Regions from separate parts of the Homo sapiens genome. Here regions 2 and 3 are each linked to region 1. The links are contacts of gene promoters, found by promoter capture Hi-C in blood cells and fetal thymus (Javierre and others, 2016). All regions are on one chromosome and are shown on one strand. The core of a region is centred on a gene start or on the middle of the fragment in contact, and the rest is flanking DNA. Distances in the headings are between cores, read along the strand shown.

Evidence for each region. Contacts are between HindIII fragments. The CHiCAGO score rates a contact against its expected background, and 5 or more counts as called.
Region 2: a contact is called between the fragment with the promoter of FASN here and the fragment with the promoter of TEX19 in region 1, in 8 of 17 cell types (neutrophils, non-activated CD4 T cells, monocytes and 5 more). The highest score is 13.3, in neutrophils.
Region 3: a contact is called between a fragment that was not itself captured here and the fragment with the promoter of TEX19 in region 1, in 1 of 17 cell types (activated CD4 T cells). The highest score is 5.1, in activated CD4 T cells.

Annotation. Positions count from the first base shown.
Region 1 is chr17:82,357,862-82,360,561 of GRCh38, reverse strand. It overlaps TEX19 (testis expressed 19), which reads right to left and starts at 1,315. Exons shown (of 2, transcript NM_207459.4): 1 at 1,277-1,315. RefSeq lists a silencer at 1-129. The HindIII fragment of the contact is 12,499 bases long and covers 1-2,700 here.
Region 2 is chr17:82,096,932-82,099,631 of GRCh38, reverse strand. It overlaps FASN (fatty acid synthase), which reads left to right and starts at 1,396. Exons shown (of 43, transcript NM_004104.5): 1 at 1,396-1,511. RefSeq lists silencers at 224-1,703, 1,774-1,963, 1,984-2,193, 2,254-2,303 and an enhancer at 2,172-2,700. The HindIII fragment of the contact is 59,862 bases long and covers 1-2,700 here.
Region 3 is chr17:82,624,291-82,626,990 of GRCh38, reverse strand. WDR45B (WD repeat domain 45B) reads left to right here. Exons shown (of 10, transcript NM_019613.4): 5 at 1,508-1,602. Among named protein-coding and RNA genes, the nearest start is that of WDR45B, 23 kb to the left of the region's middle. The HindIII fragment of the contact is 5,498 bases long and covers 1-2,700 here.

The sequences.
Region 1 (2,700 bases), core at 66-2,565:
GAGGGAAACTGGGGGAAACTGAGGGAAACTGGGGGAACCTGAGGGAAACTGAGGGAACCTGAGGGAACCTGAGGGAAACTGGGGGAACCTGAGGGAAACTTGAGGGAACCTGAGGGAAACTGGGGGAACCTGAGGGAAACTGAGGGAACCTGAGGGAAACTGGGGGAACCTGAGGGAAACTTGAGGGAAACTGGGGGAAACTGAGGGAAACTGGGGGAACCTGAGGGAAACTGAGGGAACCTGAGGGAAACTGGGGGAACCTGAGGGAAACTGGGGGAAACTGGGGGAACCTGAGGGAACCTGAGGGAAACTGGGGGAACCTGAGGGAAACTTGAGGGAAACTGGGGGAAACTGGGGGAACCTGGGGGAAACTGGGGGAACCTGAGGGAAACTGAGGGAACCTGAGGGAAACTGGGGGAACCTGAGGGAAACTTGAGGGAAACTGAGGGAACCTGAGGGAAACTGGGGGAACCTGAGGGAAACTTGAGGGAAACTGGGGGAAACTGGGGGAACCTGGGGGAAACTGGGGGAACCTGAGGGAACCTGAGGGAAACTGGGGGAACCTGAGGGAAACTTGAGGGAAACTGAGGGAACCTGAGGGAAACTGGGGGAACCTGAGGGAAACTTGAGGGAAACTGAGGGAAACTGGGGGAACCTGAGGGAAACTGGGGGAACCCGAGGGAAACTTGAGGGAAACTGGGGGAACCTGAGGGGAACTTGAGGGAAACTGGGGGAACCTGAGGGAAACTGGGGGAAACTGAGGGGAACTTGAGGGAAACTGAGGGAACCTGAGGGAAGCTGGGGGAAACTGAGGGAACCTGAGGGAAACTGAGGGAAATTTGAGGGAAACTGGGGGAAACTGAGGGAAACTTGAGGGAAACTGAGGGAACCTGAGGGAAACTGGGGGAACCTGAGGGAAGCTGAGGGAAACTTGAGGGAAACTGGGGGAACCTGAGGGAAACTTGAGGGAAACTGAGGGAACCTGAGGGAAACTGAGGGAAACTTGAGGGAAACTGAGGGAACCTGAGGGAAACTGAGGGAACCTGAGGGAAACTGAGGGAAACTTGAGGGAAACTGAGGGAACCTGAGGGAAACTGAGGGAAATTTGAGGGAACTTGGAGAACCTTAGGGAACCTGAGGGAAACTGAGGGAAATTTGAGGGAAACTGAGGGAACCTGAGGAATCCTGGCCCCGCTTCAGCCTCCCAACCCCTCACCCAGCACCAGGCCGTGTCTCCGAGACCCCTCCTCAGAGACCCCTCCTCGGGAGATCTCACCATCCTGGTGTCTCTGTTCATGTGGGCACCCAGGGAAAGGAGGAGGCAGAGCCCATTTGGGTATATAAAGGGCCATTTCCCATGGTGCTCTGGGCTCATCTGCATATCTCCCATGAGCCTCAGTTTCCAGGAAATGAAAGTGCTGAGTCACCAGCTCCCTCCAAGGAGGGCCATGTGCAGCCCCTGGGCACCTGCAGGAAGGCCCTGGAGAGGCAGCTCCTCTGGGGGCTGGAGATTGGGGTGGGTGCTCTCCGTCTGCAGGCTGGCACAGGGTGAGCATCCAGCCTGTGGTTGCTGGCCCGTCGTGGGCACGACGTCCTGGTCCTGCCGCGTTTGTAAAACGTGATCCCTGCTTTGCTGTCTCTGTCTTAAAGTTCTCTGAATTTTAAGAACCAGCCAATTGTCAATTAGTTATTGTTTAAACACATTTTCCCCTTTGTGGTTCATCTCTTCGCTCTTTAAACAAGACGCTTATAAATTAACACTTGTTTTTTCAGTAGACTCTATTTTTTACAGCAGTTTTAGGTTCATAGCAAAATTGAGCCAAAAGCATGGAGCTCTCCCACCGCTCCCCTGCTCCTGCAGGTGCACAGCCTTCCCCAGTCCTCCCGTCCCAGCCATTTGTTACACGTTGTTATTATCATCATCGCCCTCTGCAGTTTCCATTATGCTTTCCTCCGGTGCTGTGCATTCTGCAGGTTTGGACACATGTATAATCATGCAGACCCACCACTCTAATATTGTACAGACGGGTTTCTCCGCCCCGATTCATCTGTGTTCTGCATTTTCATCACTCCCTCTCCCAGCCCCTGGCAACCAGGAATCTTTTGACTGTCTCCTTAATTTTGCCTTTTCCAAAATGTCACAGAGCTGGACTCATACATTATGTAGCCTTTTCAACTTCTTTTTTAGTAATACGCACTTTGGTTCTTCCATGTCTTTTGTGGTTTGATAGTTCACTTCTTTTTTTTTTTTTTTTTTTTTTTGAGACAGAGTCTTGCTCTGTCACCCAGGCTGGAATGCACTGGTGAAATCACAGCTACTACAGCCTCAACCTCCTGGGCTCCTGTGATTTTCTCACCTCAGCCTCCCAAATAGCTGGGACTACAGGTGCTGGTGCACACCCCGATAAGTTTTGTATTTTTTGTGAGACAGGGCCTCACCATGTTGCCCACACTGGTATCAAACACTTGGGCTCAAGTGATCCGCCTGCCTCTGCCTCCCACAGTGCTGGGATTACAGACGTGAGCCACCTTGCATGGCCAGCTCACTTATTTTTTAACACTGAATGGTATTCCATTGTCTGGATGTACCATGGTTTATTTATCCATTCACCTATGGAAAGACATCTTGGTTGCTCCCAGGTTTGGGCAATTATGAATAAAGCTACTACAAATATTCATGTGCAGGTGTCTGTAGACATA
Region 2 (2,700 bases), core at 147-2,646, 260 kb after region 1:
CACCGTGCGTCAACCACAGCCCCAGAAGGGAAAAGACGCGGAGTGGCCGCCTGACCCTCAGGCCTGCTCTCAGGAGAGGAAGGAAGCGGGACACCTGCAGAGGGGCCGGGGGCCCCAGTCTCCGGTTCCCCTTCAGCGGCCCGGGCTTGCTGAGCCCTCAAAGTAGGACACGCAGCCAGAGACACCTGTGGCCTCACAAGGCCCGCTTGCCCCCCATGGGGTGCCTGGCCCCGCAAGCGCGAAGCGGTCAGAAAAGGGAGGCCGCGCTTCAGGGCTCAGGCCGCCCAAGGGGCCACGATTCGAGGAATCACTCGGGAGGGAGGGAGCGCGCGAGGGCCGGGCTGAGCCCCCGCCCGTGGGTGCGCGCCTGGAAAACTCGCAGCCTCCGCCCTGGGAAGTGGGGCAGCGGCTCCCTTTGTCCGCACCACACCAGGTGGGTGTCCCGGCCGACTCCGCTCGCCACGTGGCCGCGCCCCTCCCCTCCGCCGAGCTCCAGCGGCCTGGAGTGCGCTCGCCCGTTCGGCCCTGCGCCTCGTCCGGGTCCCCGGGAAGCTGCTAAGGAGGGGCCGTCGGGTGGGTGGACGTCCGTCTCGGGTCTGGGTTCCCCGCCGCACCCGCGAGGAAAACCGGGGATGCGCTGCGATGACCGGCAGTAACCCCGGCCGGGGCGCCCGCGGCCGGGGTCAACGCCCGCACTTGCGCCGCGGCCCGCGAGGCATCCGGGACCGCCCCGCCGCCCGCCCATCACCCTATCGCCTAGCAACGCCCACCCGCGCGCCGCCATTGGGCCGGTGCGAACACCCCTGGCGCCCGATTGGTTGCTGCTGCCGCCGCGCCGCGCAACGCCGCGCCCTCAGCCAGCTCCGCGCGGGCAGCGACGGCGGCGTGGAGTCGGCGGCCGAAGTGCGGGCACGCGGGTCCGTCCGTCCTTCCGCGCGCCTGTGGGTCCGAGCGCCCCGCCGCAGCCGGCTGGACCCCCGGTGTGGCCACGGGGTAGTCCCCAGTGTGGCCCAAGCATTCCCATCCCGCACACGTGGCCCCGGCGGACACGGGGGTCGGGGATGGCTCGGGAGGCGCGCCGCGGGCTCGGTCGCAGCCGCGTGCGCGTCGGGGCCCGCGGGGCGGGAGGCGGAAGTCGGGGGGCGGTGGTTTCCCGCCCGCCCCGCCCCCGGCGCTCCTCAGTCCCAGCCCCACCCCCCCAGGCGCGTTCCCGCGCAGGGTCCCGGCTCGGGCGGCGGCGCGCACGAGCATCACCCCACCGGCGGCGGCGCGCCGGGTCCCGGGGCGCAGCCCCGACGCTCATTGGCCTGGGCGGCGCAGCCAAGCTGTCAGCCCATGTGGCGTGGCCGCCCGGGGATGGCCGCGGTTTAAATAGCGTCGGCGCCGGCCTAGAGGGAGCCAGAGAGACGGCAGCGGCCCCGGCCTCCCTCTCCGCCGCGCTTCAGCCTCCCGCTCCGCCGCGCTCCAGCCTCGCTCTCCGCCGCCCGCACCGCCGCCCGCGCCCTCACCAGGTACGAGCAGCCGGCGCTGGGGCCGGGGCGCGGGTCGTGGTCGGGGCTGGGCCCGGGGTTCCCGGGGTGGCCCGGCTCCTCATCCTCCGCTCTCGGGGCGCGCGTGGCCCGGCCCCGTATCCAGGGGTCGCCTGGGCGGCCTGTCCGGGTCTCGGTGTTCGTGCCCCTTCGGAGGCGCCCGGGGCCCCGCGGAGTAGGTGGGCGGATGGCGGGGGAAGGACGCCGGGGAAAGCCACCAACAGCCGCCTTCGCTTCCCGTGGGGGAGGCCGCGGACCCTGAAGGGCCTGGAGGAGCCCCCGGCTCGGCCTCCCCGCGCCCACAAAGGCGCCGCCGCATCCTCCTCCCGGAGCCGCCCCGGAGCCGAGGCCCAGCCCGAAGGGGACGCCGCGAGGGAGGAACGGGGGGGCGCAGGGGCCGCGCCGGGACCGGCCTCCCCATCACGTGGCGCAGCCCGGCCGAAGCGCAGGGGTCCCGAGCAGCCCCCGCCCGGGGCGAAGGGAGGCCGGGCGCGCCGCGGTGTTCCCACCCCCTGCCTGGCCGTCGACCCCGCGTGAATAGCAAGCGGCGAGGACCCAGCGTGCGGGCCTGGAGCTGGCCCGGGGCAGCCAAGCCTCTGTGAATCGCAGCGGGTGGGAAGGCGGCCGCCTCCCTGCCGGGACGGCCCAAGGGAGGCCGCACTGCCGAGGGGCGGCGCGCGTATCAGGCCCTGGGGCCTCGTGCAAGTGGCCAGACCAGCGCTGGCCTCCGCCCCCTCCCCCCAGGGCCGCACCAGCCCTCATGCTGGAGGAGGAGCCGGCGGCCTGGGCACCCGTTCCGGGTCTTAGGGACCTGGGCTCCAGGGAGGGCCTCCTGTGGTGTGTGGGTTGGTATGGGGAGGCAAGCGTCTGTGGGTTCACCCGCGCAGGTGAAGGGTGCCAGGCAACACCTGCGTGTCCTGGCCAGGAGTGGTTCTCCAGGTTGGACCCTGCTGGAGGGGTTGGACTGGCTGGGTCGGTCCACAGTGGGGCAGGGGCCACCTTTCCCCCAGAGCATAGGCTATCCCCATTTCGTCCCTCCCCAGCCCTGGTGGCTCTTGGGCTGGCCTGGACAGCGGGCCCCCACCCCAACACGGGTGAGCATGGGTGCTGAGTACCCCCCTCTAGGGCTCCCAGCCACCTCCATGCCCCGGCTTTGGGACCCTGCCTCTCC
Region 3 (2,700 bases), core at 88-2,587, 270 kb before region 1:
TAGGTGGTGGCGTGGATGACGTGCGCCACAGTGGACCAGCCAGTGGGTCTCACCGTGGTGAGTTATGTCCCATTCCGACATGTGCAGAGCTGAGGACATGAGTTTTGAGCCTTGAATTACCCTGGGCTTTTAGCCCCTGCTTTGCCAAATGCTGCCTCTCAATAAAGGTTTTCGGTTTGAAGGTAAAGGAAAATTGAATTTTCTGTGTTGAAAGTAGCAGGTGGTTCTGTCAGCCATGGTCTCAGGGGCGTTTAGGGGGAATATGGAAGTTTGTCCTAGTACGTTGAGCAAGATAGCGCAGAGTTCGTTCATTTGGGTTTTTATTTAATATGATTTGCATATTTTACTCTAAGATTTCCATCTCTGTCGGCTGTGGGAGGACAGCAGCCGAGCAAGTTGGATGTAAACAGAGGTCATTTCACCTCCCTGCCCTTTTTTTTTTTTTTTTTTTTTTTTTGGGAGATAGAGTCTTGCTCTGTTGCCAGACTGGAGTGCAGTGGCACAATCTCAGTTCACTGTAACCTCTGCCTCCCGGGTTCAAGCAATTCCTGCCTCAGCCTCCGGAGTAGCTGGGACTACAGGCGCACACCACCAAGCCTGGCTGATTTTGTATCTTTAGTAGAGACAGGGTTTCACCATGTTGGCCAGGATGGTCTTGATCCCTTGACCTCATGATCCACCCGCCTCAGCCTCCCAAAGTGCTGGGATTACAGGTGTGAGCCACTGCGCCCGGCCAACTTTCCTGCATTTTTGTGTGGGTTTGTCATTTTAATAACGTCAATATTTAAAGGCCCTTAGTAATGCAAATGTGGCCGGGCACCGTGGCTCATGCCTGTAATCCCAGCACTTTGGGAGGCTGAGGCAGGCGGATCACAAGGTCAGGAGTTAGAGACCAGCCTGGCCAACCTAGTGAAACCCCATCTCTACTAAAAATACAAAAATTAGCTGGGCATGGTGGTGCACGCCTGTAATCCCACCTACTCAGGAGGCTGAGGCAGGAGAATCGCTTGAACTGGAGGTGGAGGTTGCAGTGAGCTGAGGTTGTGCCACTGCACTCCAGCCTGAGCGACAGAGTGAGACTCCATCTATAAAAAAAAAGTAATAATAATAATAATGCAAACGCTTGAGCCAGATCGAGGATATTCTACTTTCAGACTTTTCTTATTTTTTCCAGACACAGTAGCATAAAAATATCACTTCTGTCTGTTTTGCTCGGTTCTGAACCTAGATGGAGTGTTTGATGATGTCTCTCTGAACCTCAGAGACGTCTCTTAGGCTGACCTTCACCCAGGCGAGAAGCACTCCCTCAGCAGAGCCAGCCCACGTGCACTCGCCGAGCTCCAGGCCTGGCGCTGGCTACCTGCCTCCAGAGCTTTTTCTTCAGGAACACTCCTTTTCTGTGTGGTATTTTCAGTGTTTCTCAGTTTCAGTATGATAAGAACAGGAGCATAAAATGTTTGGGTTTGACTCTTGAGGAAAGCAACTCTGATCATGTTTTTCTTTCCAGAATTGTGGTGGTTTTGGACTCCATGATTAAGGTGTTCACATTCACACACAATCCCCATCAGTTGCACGTCTTCGAAACCTGCTATAACCCCAAAGGTGAGAGATTGAGCAGACGGGTGGCGATGGGAAATGGGTCCACATGGAGATGCCTGTGCTGGGCACTCCCTTCTCCAAGCAGGTCTCTGAGCAAAGTGCTTGGCGAGAGCAATCCTGAGCACAGAGGGGCCTCCAGAGGAGATGGACCTTCCAGGACCCACAGCTCAGCATCCCCAAACTACCTTCTGACCAGAGTCACAGAGTGGGGGCCCCTGTCCCCTCCCACCCAGTGACTATGGGCTCTCAGAACCTCCACAGTGAACCAGGAACCTATGTTTTCACCACTTCGGGAGCCACTGAGTTCTGGACTCAAGCCTTTCCTTCCCTTGTCTTCTGAATTGGAGGATTGATTGTGTTTGACTTTGTCATTTATTGTACCATCTTCATATCTTTTTATATTGGGGGTTTTGCCTCTGGCTTTGTTAGGGTAAAATTTACAAAAAACTGACTCGTTTTAAGAATACCATTTGTGGCCGGGCGCGGTGGCTCACTCCTGTAATCCCAGCACTTTGGGAGGCCGAGGCGGGCGGATCACAAGGTCAGGAGATTAAGACCATCCTGGCTAACACGGTGAAACCCTGTCTCTACTAAAAATACAAAAAATTAGCCGGGCGTGGTGGCGGGCACCTGTAGTCCCAGCTACTTGGGAGGCTGAGGCAGGAGAATCACTTGAACCCAGGAGGTAGAGGTCGCAGTGAGCCGAGATCACACCATTGCACTCCAGCCTGGGCGATAGAGCAAGACTCTATCTCAAAAAAAAAAAACTTCAATAAATTTCCGTCATTGTAAACAGTTGTGTAGCCACCGTCACAGTCAAGACAGAACAGTCGGCCGGGCGCAGTGGCTCACGCCTGTAATCCCAGCACTTTAGGAGGCCAAGGCGGGCGGATCACGAGGTCAGGAGATAGAGAGCATCCTGGTCAACGTGGTGAAACCTCATCTCTACTAAACATACAAAACTTAGCTGGATGTGGTGGCGGGTGCCCATAGTCCCAGCTACTTGGGAGGCTGAGGCAGGAGAATTGCTTGAACCCGGGAGGCGGAGCTTGCGGTGAGCCGAGATTGTGCCACTGCACTCCCGCCTGGGCGACAGAGTGA